4 separate regions of the Homo sapiens genome follow, and regions 1, 3 and 4 are each linked to region 2. Evidence: promoter capture Hi-C in 16 types of primary human blood cells and fetal thymus (Javierre and others, 2016). All regions are on one chromosome and are shown on one strand. The core of a region is centred on a gene start or on the middle of the fragment in contact, and the rest is flanking DNA. Distances in the headings are between cores, read along the strand shown.

What was found. Contacts are between HindIII fragments. The CHiCAGO score rates a contact against its expected background, and 5 or more counts as called.
Region 1: a fragment that was not itself captured here is called in contact with the fragment with the promoter of SMC1A in region 2 in 1 of 17 cell types (non-activated CD4 T cells); the score reaches 5.6 in non-activated CD4 T cells.
Region 3: a contact is called between a fragment that was not itself captured here and the fragment with the promoter of SMC1A in region 2, in 2 of 17 cell types (neutrophils and total B cells). The highest score is 6.3, in neutrophils.
Region 4: a fragment that was not itself captured here is called in contact with the fragment with the promoter of SMC1A in region 2 in 3 of 17 cell types (naive CD4 T cells, non-activated CD4 T cells and monocytes); the score reaches 7.7 in naive CD4 T cells.

Annotation. Positions count from the first base shown.
Region 1 is chrX:54,981,494-54,987,057 of GRCh38, forward strand. The region is part of intron 1 of PFKFB1 (6-phosphofructo-2-kinase/fructose-2,6-biphosphatase 1); the gene reads right to left. Among named protein-coding and RNA genes, the nearest start is that of PFKFB1, 9.9 kb to the right of the region's middle. The HindIII fragment of the contact is 2,160 bases long and covers 3,139-5,298 here.
Region 2 is chrX:53,420,102-53,425,798 of GRCh38, forward strand. It overlaps SMC1A (structural maintenance of chromosomes 1A), which reads right to left and starts at 2,553. Exons shown (of 25, transcript NM_006306.4): 1 at 2,391-2,553. The coding sequence starts at 2,499. It overlaps RIBC1 (RIB43A domain with coiled-coils 1), which reads left to right and starts at 2,772. Exons shown (of 8, transcript NM_001031745.5): 1 at 2,772-2,903; 2 at 3,213-3,301. RefSeq lists enhancers at 1,710-2,684, 1,801-1,980, 2,101-2,150, 2,341-2,520, 2,685-3,656 and 1 more. The HindIII fragment of the contact is 3,638 bases long and covers 1-3,482 here.
Region 3 is chrX:54,520,247-54,526,050 of GRCh38, forward strand. No RefSeq gene overlaps it. Among named protein-coding and RNA genes, the nearest start is that of GNL3L, 7.1 kb to the right of the region's middle. The HindIII fragment of the contact is 8,786 bases long and covers 1-5,804 here.
Region 4 is chrX:54,807,244-54,810,687 of GRCh38, forward strand. MAGED2 (MAGE family member D2) reads left to right here and starts at 502. Exons shown (of 13, transcript NM_177433.3): 1 at 502-559; 2 at 2,060-2,133; 3 at 2,479-2,970. The coding sequence starts at 2,089. The HindIII fragment of the contact is 578 bases long and covers 1,906-2,483 here.

The DNA of each region.
Region 1 (5,564 bases), core at 2,969-5,468, 1.6 Mb after region 2:
GAATGAGGATGCCATAAACACATTTTCATGCAAACAACTCTAAGAGAATTTATCACCAACAGACCCTCAATAAGGGTTCTATGGAATGTACCTCAGACAGAAGAAAAATAGTACCAAAAGAAAGGGCTAAGAGACAAGAAGAAATGGTGAGCAAGTAAAATGGTAAACATGTGTGTCAAACTAAGCCAACACTGACTTGAGAAACAACAATAAAAATGTCTATTTCATGGGTTTATAAAACAACTAAGCAAGGAACTTCTAGTTTCAGTTCCAAGAGCTTGGGAGTTCTTATTCTCATCTTTACAATAAGAAAAATTGGGTCACACTGAAAATCAATGACTTTTCTGGGACCCATTAGAGAACTGAGGCCATAGAGAAAACTACTACCTTGAAATCTGAAGAGTCAGGCACTTTCAGAGAGAGAGAAAGCATCTGAAATTTGCTTATCTCGTGCGGAAAGCACTGGATGCCAGAAGCTATTTAATACTTAACTACTACAAACAACTTTACACTTGTAAATTTATCTATTTAGAATATATGGATCAATTCCTTGAAAACCACAGCCTCTCACAAGTCAACCAAAAATAAAACAGGCACTCGAATAATCCTATAAACATTAAAATAATTTAGTTCAACATAAAATCTCCAGAAATAGAAATCTCCAGACCCAAATGTGTTTACTTCAAAAGTCTGTAACACTTTTAAAGAAGAATTAATGCAAATTTTAAACAACATTTTCAAAGAAATAAGAAGAGGAGGGAATATTTTCAACTAATTTTATGAGGCCAGAATTACCCTGATATCAAAACCAGACAAATGAATTACCAAAAACCCAAAAACTCTATAGTCCACTCTGTCATAAACTTAGATGAAAAAATCCTCAACAAAATATTGGCAGACAGAATCCAACATTACATGAAAATAATTACAGTCAGTCCTCCATATCTGTGGGTTCCACATCTGCAGATTCAACCAACAGCAGATAGAAAATACTTTTAAAAACAATAAAAATAACAAGAATAAAACACTACAAATAAAAAGCAATACAGTATAACAACCATTTACATAGCATTTACATTGTGTTAGGTATAATCTACAGATGATTTAAAGTAAATGAGAGGATATGTGTAAGTTATATGCAAACACTAGGCCATTTTATAAAAGGGACTTGAGCATTCATGGATTTTGGTATCTGCAGGGGTTCCTAGAACCAATCCTCTGCAGATACTGAGGGATGACTGTATATGCAATGATTAAGTGGGATTTAGTACAGGTATGCAAGACTAGAATAAAATTCAAAAAATCAATTAATGTAATCCACCCTATCAACAAACTAAAGAAGAAAAATAAATACATACTGACAAAGCACTTCATAAAACCTATTAATGATAAAAACTTTCAGCAAGTTAGGAATAGAGATGAATTACCTAAACTTGATAGGCACTCCTTTCTTTAAATAATTTTAATGAGTTTGAGCATTCAGCAATTTGTGAATTGGGAAGCACAATACACAAGCAGTTCAGGGCTCCACTGAGGGGGATCAAGAGAAAACTTTTATAAGGTGTTCTCAGAAGAAAGACGAAATAAATATTTGATTGCTTAAAGTAGAAAGTCCATAGTTAGAGGTTAGTTGGTGGTTTCTGAATGGTTAAGCTTAAGATTTTATATTTTTATTTTTTATTTTAAGTTCAGAGGTACATGTGCAAGTTTCTTAGTGAGATAAATTAATGTCACAAGAGTTTGTTGTACAGATTATTTTGTCACCCAGGTGTACCTATTACCTATTAACTAGCACCCATTAGTTATTCTTCCTGATCTTTTCCCTTCTCCCACCCTCCACCCTCAGGTAGGTCTCAAATGTGTGTTGTTCCCCTCTATGTCCATGTGTTCTCATCATTTAGCTCCCACTTACAAGGGAGAACATGCAGTATTTGGTTTTCTGTTCCTTTTAGGTTGCTAAGTATAATGGCCTCCAGCATCCATGTCCCTGCAAAGGACATGATGTCATTCTTTTTTATGGCTGCATAGTATTCCACGGCATACACATACTACATTTTCTTTATCCAGTCTATCACTGATGGACATTTAGGTTGATTCCATGTCTTTGGTATTGTGAATAGTGCTGCAATGAACATATGTCTGCATGTGTCTTTATAATAGAACGATTTATATCCCCTTGGGTATATACCCAGTAATGGGATTGCTGGGTTGAATGGTAGTTCTGTTTTTAGCTCTTTGATGAATCACTACACTGCTTTCCACATGGTTGAGCTAATTTACATTCCCACCAGCAGTGTATAAACATTCACTTTCTTCTGCAATCTCACCAGTATCTGTTATTTTTTGACTTTTTTATGATAGCCATTCTGACTGGTGTGAGATGGTATCTCACTGTGGCTTTGATTTGCATTTCCCTAATGATCAGTGATGTTGAGCATTTTTTCATATGCTTGTTGGCTGTATGTGTGTCTTCTTTTGAAAAGTGTCTGTTCATGTCCTTTGCCCACTTTTTAATAGGGTTGTTTTTTTCTTGTAAATTTGTTTAAGTTCAACTTGATAAGAAACTTCTATAAAGCAAACAAAAACTATCACCAACATTATACTTAAAAGTGAAAGACTAAATGCTTTCCCCCTAACATCAGGACTAATGTAAGGATTTCCACCTTCTCCACTCTTTTGACATAGTACTAGAAGTTCTAACCACTGCAATAAGGCAATAAAAGGAAATAAAAGGCATACGGTTTGGAAAATAATTTTTAAAAAATCCCTATTTGCAAATGTCATGATTGTCTACATAGAAATATCCCCCTAAACTACAGAAATTCCTCGAACTAACAAGTGAGTTCATCAAGGCTGCAAGATACAAGATCAACACACAAAGACAATCTTGAGACTTTCATTTCTGGCATGACAGCATGAGGAGCTCTAAAGACCCATTCTCTAATAAAACAAGCTCAGCTGGCAAAATTACAACACAACAACCTTTTAAAATCTCTGGAAATTGTCTTAATGGAATACAGTACATGAAGATATTTTTATTCAAGAAAATCTACTGAAATGTGGTAAGAACACAGTCTTTGATACATGTGCCATGCTACTGTTCCCGACCTTACTACTGTCCCCTCACTACTGGCTCCAAGCTTAGCTTGATAGAAGCTCCACTTAAGGTGTGTATAGCCAAGATGAAGCTCCCTTTCGTCTTGGAGAGAATGTCCCATCAATACTTTGGCATCTTACTGGAAGGAGCAGAGAGCTAGCATTTAGCATTCCCTTCAGCTCAGAATTGCAGAGGCTAAATTCCTGGCAAGTGTGGTTAAGAGGTTGGAGGATCCCTTCCTCCTCCCAGTTTTTACTCATAGAATGGAGGCTATATACCAGGTGCAATAGGCTAAGAATACTGAGGTCCTGATTACCCTCATTCCATCTTGCTCACAGGGTAGGTTCCACACCAGGATAGGCAAACTAAGACCAGAAGCTGCTGTCTCGCCCAGCACCCAGAACAGTGCTCAGACAGTATACCCATGGAGAGAAGAAATTCATAAGATGAGAGAGCTCTGAAACTCTCCCCCCAAAACTAACTTTATTTTTAACATAGTACAAAGAAGCTCAAGCCCAAGGATGTTCTCAAAAACTACAAGTTCACTTAACTAACAGCAACATAGGCCAGCTTGTTCATCAGAGAGAACAAGAGAGAGAGGGACAGGTAAGAAGAGCCCTTCTGGGGTATGAAGAAACCTCCAAGACTTACTTCACAAACTACTCCTGCTAGAGTTTAATTAGATAAGGCTGCTGGGCAATGCATGCTTCAGGACACTGCCAAACAAACAAACAAACAAAAAACAAAAACAAAATACAGCATTCAGCTAGTAATTAGTGGAGCCTAGAGTGTAATACCCCCATGTGGGCTGACAGCTTAATAGAGAGACTGGGAAAAAGTCAAAGAAAGCCCAAATTACCTGCAAGCCAAAAACTATGCACTCCAAGAAGCAACACTGAAGGGTTCACACTGCAGGGAAACATACTTTAAAAATAGCCTAGCCAAGTCACAAAGCAAAGAGTTATATAGAAATAAGGAAATGATACCAGAAGGTAATTCAAACCCACAGGAACAAATGAAAATAATAGAAAATAATAAATACATACATGTTCTCCTTAATTTTCTCAGCTTCCTTAAAACATAAAATTATATAAAATAATACTTATAATGATGTATTATTTAGTTTTTAGCATATACAGATATAATATATATATTATAATAGCTCAAAAAGGAAGGTGAAAGAGAGCTATATATGAGTAAAATTTTTATATCTCATTGAAATTAAATTAGTACAAATCTGAAGCACACTGATGTATGATGTATGTGAAAAGCCCTAGAACAACCACGAAGAATATACCTAAAAAATATATAATAAAAAATGATCAAATGAATTAAAAAGTTAAACTAGAATAATTCATTTAATGCAAAAGAAAGCAGTAAAGGAAGAATAGAGAGAAAAAGACATGAGCTCTATGGAAAAATAAAACTGCATATTTAAACCAACTATATCAATAATGATTTTAAATCAGAACAGATTAATCAACCCAATCAAAAGGTAGAGAATATCTAACTGAATACAAACAAACAAGATCCAACTGCATGCTGCCTACAGAAGATAGGTTTTAGACTGAAAGATACAAGGCAGGCCTGGTGGCTCACGCCTATAATCCGAGCACTTTGGGAAACCAAGGTGGGAGGATCCCTTGAGTCCAGAAGTTTGAGACCAGCCTGGGCAACATAGTGAGACTCCATCTCTATTCTAAAAAAGAAAGAAGAAAAAAGAGAAAGAAGCAAATAGATTAAAAGTAAAATAACGTAAGTAATACATCATGCAAACAACAACCACAAGAAATTTGGAGTGACCATACTAATATGAGACAAAATGGATGTTCAAAAACATTACTAGAGATATATAGGGACATTCAATAATGACAAAAGGGTCAATCCATAATGAATATATCACAAGTATAAACGTATATGCCTAAACAACAGAGCTGCCAAATACATGAAGCAAAACTGGCAGAATTGAAGGGAGAAATAGACAATCCACTGACAATAGTTGGAAACTTCAAGACCACTCTTTCAATAATGGATAGAACAACTACATAGAAGATCAACAACAGGGAAATAGAGGACTTCAACACAAAGTAGTAATAACAAACATCTGTAAAACACTCCATCTCCAAACAGCAGACTATACATTTTTCCAAAGTGTACATCAAACATGCTCCAAGAGAGACAATATTCTAGGCCATAAAAGAAGCTTCAATAAATTTGGAAGAATGGAAATCATATAAAGTATGTTCTCCAATCATAATGGAGTAAAATAAAAAATTAATAACAGAGAGAACTTTGGGAAATTCACAAATATGGGAACCTAAAGGAAACAGAAGAAGGATATAATAAGGATTAGAGGTGAAAATAATAAAACAGAGACTAGGAAAACATTAGAAAAAAATCAACAAAATCAAAAGTTGGTTATTTGAAAAAATTAATAAACTTGACAAACCTTTAGTGAGACTGACCA
Region 2 (5,697 bases), core at 1,303-3,802:
GGCAGGAGCACAGGCATGGGTTCTGAGAACCACGGACAAGTTATCACACCTCTGTGCCTTAGTCTCCTCATGTATAAAACGAAGCTATTGGCATTTTCCTCCTAGGGTCATTTTGAGAATTTAATTGTAAAGGGTCCCTTGGCTGGGTGCAGTGGCTCATGCCTGTAATCCCAGCACTTTGGGAGGCTGAGGCAGGCAGATCACTTGAGCCCAGGAGTTTGAGACCAGCCTGGCCAACTGGGAGAAACACCAACTCTACTAAAAATACAAGAACTAGCCAGATGGGGTGGCGCACGCCTGTAGTCCCAGCTACTTGGGAGGCTGAGGCACGAGAATCACTTGAACCCAAGAGGCAGAGGTTGCAGTGAGCCAACATCATGCCACTGCACTCCAGCCTGGACAACAGAGCAAGACTGTCTCAAAAAAAAAAAAAAAGAAAAGAAAAAGAAAAAGAAAAAACAGGGTCCCAATAAATAAAGTACTTGACACACAGAGTAGGTACTCAATTAATTAGTCCTATCCTAAGTCTGGACTCAGCTGTCTCCCTCATCACAGCAGGACTAGCACATCATGCAGACCAGGAGTCAGCCTTTTAGGAACCAATATCCAACCTTTGGGCTTCTCCCATCATTTCCAGGGAGGACAACATCATCTCACAACCCCAAGCCTCTCTAATCACAATCAATATGGTAAACATTTTTGTAATATATATTATGGACTGAACACCAGTAAAACGTTTCAAGGAATGTCTGCTTTAGGGTACTCACAGGCCAATGAAGATACAAAAACATGCACCATCAATATAGGACTTAATAAACATTAACGTGTACCAAGTGTCTACGGTATGCCACAGAGGAAGACTCACTCACCAAAGGGACTAAAGGAATGGCTTGTAGAGGTGGGCCTTGAAGAACGGGGGCAAGTGGGGGAGTGCCATAGCCCTTTTCAGAACAGCTGGGAATACAAATCTACTAATGCTGAGGGGACTGAATGCCAAGAGGTACATCCTAGCTCTTCCAACAGGGGCCACTACACTAAAACCCGAGGAAACTGGGTGGACACCAAGCATTAGCCCTCCAGGCCAGTGGTTCTCAAACAAGTTGGGGGGTTGGGGGAATCACACACACCCTCTGTGACATCTAGCAATGTCTAGAGACAGTTTTGATTGTCATGCCTGGGGAGCAGGGGTGCTACTGTTATCTAGCAGGTAGATGCCAGAGATGCTGTTAAACATCCTACAATGCACAGAGCACATCCCACAGCAAAGGATTATCTCGCTGGAAATGTCAATAGTGCCACTGTTGAGACACTCAGTCTCCAGGAAAGGTACTCAGTATGTGCTACTTCAGCAAGGGCAGCCTCTTAGGCTAGGATATCATTCAGCTAGAACATCTCTGGGGTGGAAGAATACAGCAGGATTCCAAATGGACATCTGAGGTGAGAGGAATCCACGGTGTATCGTTTAGAGTTGGGAAGACACAAAATAGAGGCTTTACCTGACCACCCTTTCTAAAGACACCACCTAAGTCACTTTATCACATCCACCTGTCTCATTTCCTGTATAGCACTTATGACAGCCTAAAACCATCTTATTTTCTCCTTATCTTCTTTCCCCTCTGGAATATAAGTTCCCTGTGAGCATGGAGTTGGTTTATTCTATTCTCCGCTGTTTCCACAACTTGCAACTGAATAACTCCTGATAAACAATAAGCATTCAACAAATTTGGTAAATTAGTTAATTTCGGCTTTTGACGGTTTCGGTGGTAGGAAAAGGGCGAGTTCGAGGCAACTACCTCTGACATAGCGGTGGGGGGTGGGGATCGACACCTCAAGCATTCTAAAGACTGGAGCGCTGGGTCTGAAATTCAAAAGTGCCGCCTCCAGAGAAGAGTAGAAAGGAGTTGGAGTGTACCAATGCGAGGCGAGAGAGGACGCTGGGCTGAAACAGAAGTGCACCGTTTGGGACCGAAGGCCACGGGAGAGCTACCAGCGTCCCCACATTCTCCGGAGGGGGTCAAGTAAGGCTGGGAAGCCGGCTCCGGCCGGTCCGGCGGGGAGCCGCGCGGCGGAGGACTGAGCTGGCGGGAAGCTGGTTCCAGACGCGACTCCTTTGGCGGGAGGGGGAAGTAGGCGGGGTAACTGGCAGCTCGGCCTGTACCACTGGGCCGGGGCGGGGGCCGCGCAGGAAGCGGCAAGTGACACCTGGAAGGGGTTCGAGTTAGAGCACCCGCGCGGGGAGAGTGGGTTCGAGCAGAACCCCCTCTGGACGGGCAAGGAACCCGTAAGGGTCCGCGACGTTTCAGGTTACATGGGCTGGGTTGTACTACTCCGGCACCGGATAAGGGGTCCAGGCCGGGACGTGCGCAGGGCCGCGGCCAGGTTTATCTCACCAGAGCCATTGGGTCCAATGATGGCGGTGAACCTCTGAAATGGTCCGATAATCTGTCGACCCTTGTACGACTTAAAGTTCTCAATCTCAATCAGTTTCAGGAACCCCATGACGGCCGCGGCGCCGGCGGCAGTAGGACAGGCCGCGCCGTACGCCCGAGAACTGAGGTAGCCCGCGCGGGAAACGCCGCAGTGCAAGCCGGGCGACCGGCAAATGTCGCGAGAATACGTCCAGGCCTAACGGGATTTTCGCCTTCCGGCAGGAGTGGGACCAGGGGCGGGGACTGATGTTGCGTATACGAGGAGCGAGCTGACGACTGGCGTGGTGCCTCCGCCCCCCTTTCTTGTTGCATGGCAACAACAAACACTTGCTCCTGCGGACCAGATCCCCGGAGGAGTTGTTGCTGGGCGGAGTCAGAGCAGTTCTTGAGGTTCAAGGAGGCGGGGGAGACCTGAGCTCACGCTTGCTGAGACAGAAGTCACAGCAGGATTATGCCCCTCAGGGCAAGAGGAAGGTGGGAGCTCGGCTGTGGCTTTAGCCTGGCCAGCTTTCAAGGCTAGGACAAGGACAGGGTCGGGAATTGGAAGGACCCGGGGGGAGCGGAGAGCTGGACGGGAAGGAGGGGCCAACGGGAGGATTCAGTGTTAGGTGAGCTCAGACTTTGCTAATGGTGGGGTGGGATTGGTGGCGGGACGGGTTGCGAAGGCGGACGGGTTGTGAATGGGACTGGGGCTACTCCCAGGCAACAGGGATACAGGCTGGGGAAGGCTACGGCCTGAGATACTACCCCTATCCCCTGCCTCCCTCCTGTTGTACCAAGCAGAGTTCAGAAACTGCCGCCGTAACCCAAGAACAAAGTTGCATGCAGAGCCAACCTAAGAGCTTCAAAATCGGGATTCCTTACTGAGAAAGGTATTTTGTGTGAACCCCCAGGAGTCAGGGTCCCTAAGCCAGCGCTCTCCACCTCCACCTACCTCTGCCTCCATGCCTCTCCCCCATCCCATTCCCACAGCTCTATACCACAATGCCACCTTACCTCTCTTCCCTCTCTGCTCTCTATCATTAATAAGGCAGGGGCCTTAGCAATCCAAGAAGCTTAAAATGTCAGCTGAATCTTCCCCTTCAGTGACCTTATACTGTAATGGCAGGTGAAACCAGTAGGTAAGTTGGTGCCATTCTCAGACTTAAACATGGAAAGGATCTGGTGGTTGCCATAATTATTCCTTTAACTATTTATTAAATTATGTCCGAAGGCTAGAAAGAGTCCTAAAGACTTAGGACAAGTCCAGGAAAGTGAGGAAGTGGCTGGGCATGGTGGCTGACAACTGTAATCCCATCGTGAGGGAGGCAGGCCAAGGCAGGAGGATCACTTGAGACCAGCAGTTCAAGACCAGCCTGGGCAACATAGTGAGACCCTATCTCTACTAAAAATTAAAAAATTAGCTGGGTGTGGCAGCTCTCACCTCTGGTCTACCCAGGATGCCGAAGCAGGAGGATCACTTGAGCCTGGGAGGTTGAGGCTGTAGTGAGTGGTGTCCGCACCACTTCACTCCAGCCTAGGTGACAGAGCAATACCCTGTCTCAAAAATAAATAAAGGGAGGAAGCTTGGTAGATGGAATCTAGTAGGGGAGCCATAAATGAAGTTCAGCTGGGAGAAACAATCAGGCTGAGGGGATAAAATGGCTAAAAGACAGCAATCTCATGTAATCCATGGGGAAATACTGTTCCCTTTTAAAAGATGAGATGGTGAGCCTGGGTAACATAGCAAAACCCAATCTCTACAAAAAAATTTTAAAAATTAGGCAGGCATGGTGGCACACACCTGTAGTCCCAGCTACTCAGGAGGCTGGGGCAGGAAGATCCTTTGAGCCCAGGAGTTTGAGGCTGCAGTGAGCCATGATTGCACCACTACACTCCATCCTGGGCAACAGAGAGAGACCCCATCTAAAACAAATTAAAAATAAAATAAATTTTATTCTCTGCCTCAGCCTTCCAAGTAGCTAGGATTACAGGTGCCCACTGCCACGCCTGGCTAATTTTTTTGTATTTTTAGTAAAGACAGGGTTTCACTATGTTGGCCAGGCTGGTCTTGAACTCCTGACCTCCTGATCCACCTGCCTCGGCCTCCCAAAGTGCTGGGATTACAGGCGTGAGCCACCGCGCCCGGCCAAAAATAAAATAAAATTTTAAATTTAAAAAAGATGAGATGGCACTTGGGGGGAAAATTAAATTGGATCCTTATCTCACACCATACACAAAATGCAACTCCAAGTGGATTAAAAACCTAAGTGACGCCGGGCACAATGGCTCATGCCTGTAATACCAGCACTTTGGGAGGCCGAGGCAGGAGAATTGCTTGAGTTCAAGACTAGCTTGGGCAATATAGTGAGACCCCATCTATATTAAAAAAAATTAAATGGGGCCAGGTGTGGTGGCTCATGCCTGTAATCCCAGCACTTTGGGAGGCCAAGGAGGGTGGATCATAAGGTCAGGAGATTGAGACTATCCTGGCTAACACTGTGAAACCCCATCTCTACTAAAAATACAAAAATCAGCCGGGCATATATGTTCAACTACTTCACAGTTACAAAATGGAAAACAAAACAAAACACCAAAAAGATCCAAATAGCTATAGGAGGAATTAAAGAATCACGCTCCAAACAAAGGAACAGCACATACAAAGGCCCCGGGGTGGGAACAATTACTGTGTTGGAGGACTTGATCAGCTTGCCTGGAGCACTGTAAGCAAGGGAGACAGTGGTTTGAGACAAATTGGAGAGGTGTGCAGGAACTAGATCTTGAAAGCCCACAGTAAGGAGTTTGGATCTGATTCTAAGTATAGTGGGAAGCTAGTGGAGGATTTAAGCAGGTGAGAGACATGATCAGATTTATGTTTGCTAAAGTTTTTTTGGCTGCAGCTTTGGCTGGGTTACATGCCAAAAGTGAGCTTCCCAAAATATGAAGGAACACAGGCAAATTTAGCTTTCTAGCCTTTCATTTGACCAGAAAATAAGTAATAAAAGTAAAAAAAAAAAAAAAAAAAAAAAAAAGGGTGGGGGGACATATATTTCAGAAAAGAAAGCTGCTTCTGGTTTCTGTGATTGGGCTATAGGAGTCAATAGAGGAAGCTGGAATACCAACATGGAGACAGTTGTGGTTATTCAGGAAGCTGGCAATGGTGGCTTGGATAAGGGTTATTTTGAAAGAAGAAGGAGTGAGGGAAAGGAAGGATTAAAGGATGTCTCCTAGGTTTTTGACCGGAGCAACTTGGTGAATGGTGGTGCCACTTACTGAAATAAGGAAAACT
Region 3 (5,804 bases), core at 3,054-5,553, 1.1 Mb after region 2:
TTAATTAATCTATTTATTTTGAGATGGATTCTAGCTCTGTCACCCAGGCTGGAGTGCAGTGGCGCAAACTCGGCTCACTACAACCTCTGTCTACTGCGTTAAAGCGATTCTCCTGCCTCAGCCTCCTGAGTAGCTGGGATTACAGGCGTGTGCCACTATGCCTGGCTAATTTTTGTATTTTTAGTGGAGTCTGGGTTTTGCCATGTTGGCCAGGCTGGTTTTGAACTCTTGACCTCAGGTGATCCGCCCACTTTGGTCTCCCAAAGTGCTGAAATTACAGGCGTCAGCCACTGCACCTGGCCTCCAAGATGTATTATTAAGTGAAAAAAGCAATATGTATAACAATATACATAGTACGGCACCTTCTGTGTAAGGCGGAAGGTGGAATACGCTATACATTTATATTTGTTTGCATCTGTATAAAGAAACACTAGAAGAAGACAAAATAAACTAACAAAACTGATACCTGTGGGGGTGCAGGGGAACTGGGTGGACTAGATGGGGATAAGAAATCTCAAAGTATAATTTTTAAATAGTTTCAATATTCAAAATGTGTATTTTATCTATTACAAATGACATATTCAGGCTGGGCGTGGTGGCTCATGCCTGTAACCCCAGCACTTTTGGAGGCTGAGGAGGGTGGATCACTTGAGGCCTGGAGTTCAAGACCAGACTGGCCAACATGGTGAAACCCATCTCTACTAAAAATACAAAAATCAGCCGTGCGTGGTAGCACACAGCTGTAATCCCAGCTACTCAGGAGGCTGAGGCAGGAGGATCACTTCACCCCAGGAGGCAGAGGCTGCAGTGAGCCAACATCACAACACTGCACTCCAGCCTGTGTGACAGAGCGAGACCTGATCTCAAAAAAAAAAAAAAAAAAAGTTCACAAAGTAACAAAACTCGAAGGCAATTAGAAATTTAATAAATATACAATTCTTTTTTAAAACTTACTTGTTAATGTATTTTAATGCATAAGTAATGCCTGAATACATCTGGAGGTTTTTTTTGTGTGTTGTTTTGAGACGAAGTCTTGCTCTGTTGCGCAGGCTGAAGTACAATGACGCCATCTAGGCTCACTGCAACCTCTGCCTCCTGGGTTCAAGTGATTCTCCTGCCTCAGCCTCCTGAGCAGCTGGGATTACAGGTGCCTGCCACCACGCCCAGGTAATTTTTGTATTTTTAGTAGAGATAGGGTTTCACCATGTTGGTCAGGCTGGTCTTGAACTCCTGACATCAGATGATGCCCCTGCCTCTGCCTTCCAAAGTGCTGGGATTACAGGCATGAGCCACCATGCCCAGTCCTGGAGTATTTTATCGCAAATTCCAGACCTGAGGTAATCTCACACATAAAAACCATGTTTCTCTAACACACTTTTTTTTTTTAAAAAAAAGCATAATTACAATAATGCTGACATACCCAGCATTTTTTGTGTGTGTGTGAGACATTGTCTAGCTCTGTCACCCAGGCTTGAGTGCAGTGATACGATCTGGGCACACTGCAACCTCCGCCTCCCGGGTTCAAGCAACTCTCCTGCCAAACCCTCAGGAGTAGTTGGGATTACAGGTGTGCACCACCACGCTTGGCTAATTTTTGTATTTTTTTTTTTTGAGATGGAGTCTCACTGTGTGGCCCAGGCTGGAGTGCAGTGGCACGATCTTGGCTCACTGCAAGCTCCGACCCCCCAGATTCACGCCATTCTCCTGCCTCACCCTCCCAAGTAGCTGGGACTACAGGTGCCTGCCACCATGCCTGGCTAATTTTTTTGTATTTTTAGTAGAGACAGGGTTTCACCGTGTTAACCAGGATGGTCTCAATCTCCTGACCTCGTGATCCACCCGCTTTGGCCTCCTGAAGGGCTGGGATTACAGGCGTGAGCCACCGTGCCCGGCCTAATTTTTGTATTTTTAGTAGAGATGGGGTTTCACCATGTTGGCCAGGCTGGTTTCGAACTCCTGACCTCAGGTGATCCACCCGCCTCAGCATCCCAAAGTGCTGGGATTACAGGCGTGAGCCACTGTGCCCGGTCTAACATACCCAACATATTTAACATTTATTCCTGAATATCATCTAACACCCAGTCCATGTTCTACTGTCCTTCATTATCTCAAAAATACCTTTTTTAGCCTGGCCAACATGGTGAAACCCTGTCTCTACTAAAAATGCAAAAATTAGCTGGGCATGGTGGTGCGCCCCTATAATCCCAGCTACTCGGAAGGCTGAGATGGGAGAATCGCTTGAGCCTGGGAGGCGGAGGCTGCAGTGAGCCGAGATCTTGCCACTGCACCCCAGCCTGGGTGACAGAACAAGACCCCATCTCGAAAAAAAAAATCTTTTTATACTTCATTGGAATCTGGTTGTTAACAAGACCCACACATTGCATTTGTTTGCTTTATCTCTGAAATTTCCTTTCCTTTTTATTTCTTTTTAATCTTTTTTTTTTTTTTTTTTTTTTGAGACGAGGTCTCGTTCTGTCCCTCAGGCTGGAGTGCAGTGGTGCGATCTCGGCTCACTGCAAACTCTGCCTTCCGGGTTCCAGTGATTCTCCTGCCTCAGCCTCCCCAGTAGCTGGGATTACAGGCATGTGCCATGATGCCCGGCTAATTTTTGTGTTTTTAGTAGAGATGGGGTTTCACCATGTTGGCCAGCCTGGTCTTGAACTCCTGACCTTAAGTGATCCACCCGCCTCGGCCTCCCGAAGTGCAGGGATTACAGGCATGAGCCACCATGCCCAGCCTTATTTTCTTTTTAATCTGTAATTTTCCCTCTCTTTTCTTCCTTCCATTTATTTGTTGAATATACTGGCTCTTTTGTCCTGTAAAATTTCCCAAGTTCTTGCTTTGGTGTATTGTTTCTCCCGGTACCATTTAACATGTTTCTCTTCCTATATTACCTGAATTTTTTGTAAATGAAGTTAAATAGAGATGCTCGATTAAATTGTTTCTTTTTTCCTTCTTGTTTAAAAGTATACTTCATGAATAGTGCTGTATACTTCTTATTGTACAACATAAGAAGGCACATATATCTTGTTTTCTGTCTTTGATGATAAGTTTGATGAGTAGGGTCAGATGGTATCAGCCTAATTCCTCTGTTATAATTCCCCAAATGTTTTTCACCTATGGTTTTAGCAGCCATATTTTTTCTTAAATCCATTATCTCATTAGGGATTGAATTGTAACACTGCCATTTCTCTTGCATTTATAAGTTGAGTCTTCCATAAAGAAGCTCTTTCCTTAATTATCTATTTGATTAACCTGCAATATGATTCATGTGGGAAGGCAGGAATAATGCCAGATTTTTTCCATTTGTTGATTAATTATCAGCAGAATGAGCTGATGCCTTAGCAACATCCAAGGTAACCAATTCATTTTTATTTTTATTTTTATTTTTTTTTGAGACAGAGTCTCACTGTCACCCAGGCTAGAGTGCAGTGGCGCAATCGGCTCACTGCAACTGCTGCATCCCGGGTTCAAGCGATTCTCCTGCCTCAGTCTCCCAAGTAGCTGGGACTACAGGCGCCCACCACCATGCCCAGCTAATTTTTGTATTTTAGTAGAGACGGGGTTTCACTATGTTGGCCAGGCTGGTCTTGAACTTCTGACCTCGTGATCTGCCCACCTCGGCCTCCCAAAATCCTGGGATTACAGGTGTGAGCCACTGTGCCTGACCTCATTTTTATTTTTTAAAATACACAATTCTTAAGAGAAAACTTTAATAAAGAACACAGAAGAAGATGAACTGAAGAAATGAGGGTATATTCCACGTTGTTGGATGGAATGAGTAATTATTACAATGATGGCAGTTCCTCCAAATTAATCTATAAATTTAGTGTGATCCCAATCAAAATCCCAGTTGGATTTTTGAAGACCTTGATAGACTCATTTTAAAATTTATGTGGCAATAGATCTAAGACACCTAAAAAGAACACTAAAGAGGAGGAAATGCTCCATGTGATATTTAGACACATTACAAAATACTAAAACCAAGGTGGTATTAGCCCAAGGACAGAAAAAGATGTATGTGTGTTTATGTGTGTATGCCTAATAACATATGATAATGGTGGCATGGCAAATCAATGGGAAAAGGAGGAATTGTTCAGTATTTGATGGTGGGAAACCTGGCTTACCATGTGGAGAATAATAAAGCTACATTCCCACGTATTACCACATATGAGGGTGGAATCTAGATGGATTGAAACCTATTCCACCTATTAGACTGGCAAAAATTAGCCATCTTGGTCGGGCGTGCTGACTCACGCCAGTAATCCCAGCACTTTGGGAGTCTGAGGTGGGTGGATTGCTTGAGGTCAGGTGAAACCCCATCTCTAATAAAATACAAAAATTAGCAGGGCATGGTGGCGGGCGCCTGTAATCCCAGCTACTAGGGAGGCTGAGGCAGCAGAATTGCTTGAACCCGGGAGGTGGAAGTAGCAGTGAGCCAAGATCGCACTACTGCATTAAGACTCTGTCTTAATATATGTGCTGCCGAGGAGAGCACAACAGAGACTCTGTCTTAAAAACAAAAAATAGCAAGCTAGAGAATGTCAAGTGTTAGTGAAGATGTGGGGATACAGAAATCCTCACACATGGTGAAAGTGTGAACTGGTACTGCCATCCCAGAGAACCATCTAGAAGTATTGGTGTTTTTAAGTCAAACTAAGTATATGCATACTTTAGAATGTAATCATGTGGCTCTTGAGTGTATGTTCCAAAAGAAATCCTCACACAGGTCAATAAGGGAATATGTACAAGGATGTTCACTGAAGTATTATTGGAGAGCTGGAGGCAATCTATGCAGTGAAGGCACAGTATGGTTACCATGAGCAGATAGAAGCAATGGATGAGGTCAGGTTGGGCGCAGTGGCTCACGCCTGTAATCCCAGCACTTTGGGATGCCAAGGTGGGTGGATCACCTGAGGCCAGGAATTCGAGACCAGCCTGGCCAATATGGCAAAACCCCGTCTCTACTAAAAATACACGGGCATGGTGGTGGGCGCCTGTAATTCCAGCTACTCGGGAGGCTGAGGCAGGAACCCAGGGGGCAGAGTTTGCAGTAAGCCCAGATAGCGCTACTGCACTCCAGCCTGGGCAACAGAGTGAGACACCATCTCAAAAAAAAAAAAAAAAAAAAAAAAAGAAGCAATAGATTAGATGTACACACAGCAATATGGATAGACCTTAAAAACACTAGGCTGAATGGAAAACAGAATGACTTTTTTTTTTTTTTTTTTTTAAGACAGAGTCTTACTCCATCACCCAGGCTGGAGTGCAGTGGTGTGATCTCAGCTCACTGCAACCTCTGCCTCCCAGGTTCAAGCGATTCTCGTGCCTCAGCCTCCCCAGTAGCTGGGATTAGAGGTGTGCGCCACCACACCTGGCTAATTTTTGCATTTTTAGTAGAGACAGGGTTTCGCCATGTTGGCCAGGCTGGTCTTGAACTCCTGGCCTCAAGCAATCCGCCTGCTTCGGCCTCCCAAAGTGCTGGGATTACAGGCATGAGCCACCGCACCTGGCCAGAATGAGATATTTATGTAAAAGAAAAACAAGTACAAAGTATGCTCAATAGTGAGACAATCTGATATCATGTGCCTCTTGAGGTGACACAATACAAAATAAAGGATATCCCCTATGTACTGTTCTTGCTAAAAATATTTATTCTGAATCTATTCATGTGAAAAGAACAAATGAATCCAGAATATGGGACATATTACAAGACAATTGGCCTGGACTCTTCAAAAACATAAATGTCATTTGAAACAAAAAATATAGGGGTATTATTCTAGATTAAAAGAGGTTAAAGGGAT
Region 4 (3,444 bases), core at 945-3,444, 1.4 Mb after region 2:
TAGAAAAATGTGCACTAACGGAAAGATGTTTTATATATAACTGGAAAAAAACAGGTCGCAGAACAGAAGGTATGTATAGTGTACCATTTGTCGGAGAGAGAACCTGAATAATTAGTATACGAATAGAAAAAAAATCTGGATAGCAAAATGTTAATAGTGGTTATTTCTGGGAGATGAGTGGCCTTTCATTGGTGTGTTATATATTACTGCATTGTTTGAATTTTTACAACAACAACAAAAGAACAACATATTACCTTTGTAATAAGAAAAAATGAAGATATAAAAATAAATTCAATGAATGACTTGCTTTCAGGGGGCGGTTTGAGTTGGAAGAGCTTCAGACTGAGCCTGGTACAGTGGCATAAACATGGGCTTTGGCGTCAGACAGCCCTGAGCGGGGCCCCATTGCCCCACCCCCGAGGAAGGCGAGGGGGGGTGGCAGGGGGCTGCGGAAAGGGGCTGGGCTGGGTTGGGCTGTCTGCAGCTCTAGTCCAGGAGGCTGAGACTTCGAGAGGGACTTAGAGAAGGCAGACGCATCCCGAACTCGCTGGAGGACAAGGTGAGGGGCGTTGATATTGGGGTTTTATGGAGGTCAGACAGTGGTTCCAGACCCCTCGAACCCATAGCCAGGCAGATGAGCAATTCTTACTGCACCACTGCAGCTGAAGCAGAGGTGACCTGGAGTGGGGTGTAGGCAATGAGGACGACTGAGAAAGTAGTAGGCTGTACAGACTGGGAGCAGAGACTAGCGGAGGGAGGAGGGGAGAAAAACGGGGAACCAGGAATGTTGGGAGGGGGACGAGGAATACAAGGAGGGAGGGGAACACTGAGGGGGAGTGAAGATCCAGAGAAGAGAATCGGGGATGCAGAGAGGGATTAAGGAATACTGAGGGGCAGGGTGTGCAAACGTAACACGGAGGAGGATGTAAGAAATGGGAAGAAGGAATTCTGGAGTAAATAGGAAATGTGAGGTAGGAATAGGGAGTAGGGAGCCAGGCTAAGGGAATACGGAGGGGGGCATAAGGAATGAGGAGCAGGGAGCGGGGGAGGGGCAGACAGGCTGGGACGGAGGCCCCCTAGGGAGGCGGAAAGGGGCGGGACCACTTCCGGCCTAGAGAGGGGAGGGCAGTCTCCGAGTTTCGGAGGGGCTTGGAGTGAGTGGACGCACTCGGGAATTGTAGGAGGACGAGGTGAGCAGCCGGGTCGGCTTTTGGATGAGAGCCCCGCTAGGGGTCGGCCCCACCCTCTGGGATCTGGAGAAAACCTGCCTTAAGGACCGGATCGTACCGGATCCATCCGGCTGGGAAGGGAGGGGACTGGACCCGGTTTGGCCGGGCCCAAGATGGAATCACTAGCTCAGTATTTATTTGAGGAGGGGGTGTAATAGGGAAGGGGCGGAACCAAGATGCGCCTGTTTGGAGGGGGGCGTGTTAGGAAGAAGGGCGGGGCCAAGAGACACTGGACTCTGTAGGGCGTGAGTAGGGGAGGGGCCGGGTCCACCAGACACTGCGACAATTTTGGAGGAAGGCTTGTTGGGCAGGGGGCGGGACCGAATGGTACTGCGGACCTGGAGAGGGGCGTGTGTTGGGGCAGAGTGCCAGACTGAGACCACGACCATTGCGCATGCGCACTATGTTTCGCTAGAAAGGGGCGTGTTGAGAAGGGCCAGCACTGAGAAGAGCCAGCTGCTGAATGCGCATGTGCACGGTGGACATCAAAGAAAGGGCTCGTGCTGGGAAAGCGGGCGGGGCTGAGAGCGGCCCTGCAGCCGACGCGCATGCGCTCTATCGACCTGCGGCTGGGTGGGGGGTGCACTGGGAAAAGGGGCGGGGTCCTCAGAGCTGCCGCGCTGGCACATCTTCCTGGAGAAGGGGAGGGTGCGGCTGCAGAGAATTGAGACTTAGAAGCTTTGAATTCCTGTATCTGAGAACGGAGTCGTTGGGGGTGGTGGAGGGGGTTGGAATTGGGGACCTACGGAAGGTGAGGATCAGCCTCCAGGCACAACAGGGGAGAGGACGTTCAGTGGGCTTCAACTTGACCCAGGCCTTCTCCCCTTCAGGCTCAGCTCTTGCCAGGCCAAATTGAGACATGTCTGACACAAGCGAGAGTGGTGCAGGTCTAACTCGCTTCCAGGTAAGGCCTCTTTCTGTCCTTTCCCCAGCTGCTTTTCCTCTCCAGCCCTTGTTGCTGCCCCCAAGTCCCTTGGCTCTTCCCCTCCCATCCTTGTCCTTCTCCACCTACTTTCCTGCCTGGGTGTCCCCCTGCCCAGTGGAGGGAGGGAGAGAAGGTGGGCGGGCCCCTCTTCTGCCATCAGTTCTTGCTCAGAGGAAAGGGAGGCCTTGTTGGGCTGAGGTGGTCAGAGCACACCGCAGGTAGGAGTCAGTACAGGTCAGAGAAGTGTGGCCTTGGAATTTTGGAGCCATTTGCTTAGTTGGGGGTGAGGAGAAGGTCTATGAACTTCCCTGCTTCCTCTTGCAGGCTGAAGCTTCAGAAAAGGACAGTAGCTCGATGATGCAGACTCTGTTGACAGTGACCCAGAATGTGGAGGTCCCAGAGACACCGAAGGCCTCAAAGGCACTGGAGGTCTCAGAGGATGTGAAGGTCTCAAAAGCCTCTGGGGTCTCAAAGGCCACAGAGGTCTCAAAGACCCCAGAGGCTCGGGAGGCACCTGCCACCCAGGCCTCATCTACTACTCAGCTGACTGATACCCAGGTTCTGGCAGCTGAAAACAAGAGTCTAGCAGCTGACACCAAGAAACAGAATGCTGACCCGCAGGCTGTGACAATGCCTGCCACTGAGACCAAAAAGGTCAGCCATGTGGCTGATACAAAGGTCAATACAAAGGCTCAGGAGACTGAGGCTGCACCCTCTCAGGCCCCAGCAGATGAACCTGAGCCTGAGAGTGCAGCTGCCCAGTCTCAGGAGAATCAGGATACTCGGCCCAAGGTCAAAGCCAAGAAAGCCCGAAAGGTAAGACCTCTGCAGTCACCACCCTTGGTTTTCTACTCCTCTCTCAGTTGATTCATTTGTTCTACAAACATTTAGAAAGATCCCTGTGCTCATCAGGGCTGTGGGGGGCACTGAGAGTAATGTGATGTAATTCCTGTCTTCAGAGAGCTTGCAGACTGATGGGGAGGTGCAATCTGAATGTAATGCAGTTTATGTTTACATAGTAGCTGCCCTGTATTAGGCCTTGAGCTAAGCACATTTATGCAGGTTATCTCATTAAATCTTGAAAGTAATTCTCATAGCCCCAATTTTATGGAGAAGGAAGCTGAGTTCCAGAGAGGTGAAGCGGCTTGTCTAGGATGGTTCAAGCAGAGCCAGTAGTGGGCACAGAAAGAGAAGAAGACTCAGCCTCCACCCACCCTTGGTTTGCTCCTGGCCTGCTAGGCAGATGAAACACCTGCTTGGAAGTCAGTGAGAAACAAATCCAGGGTTCAG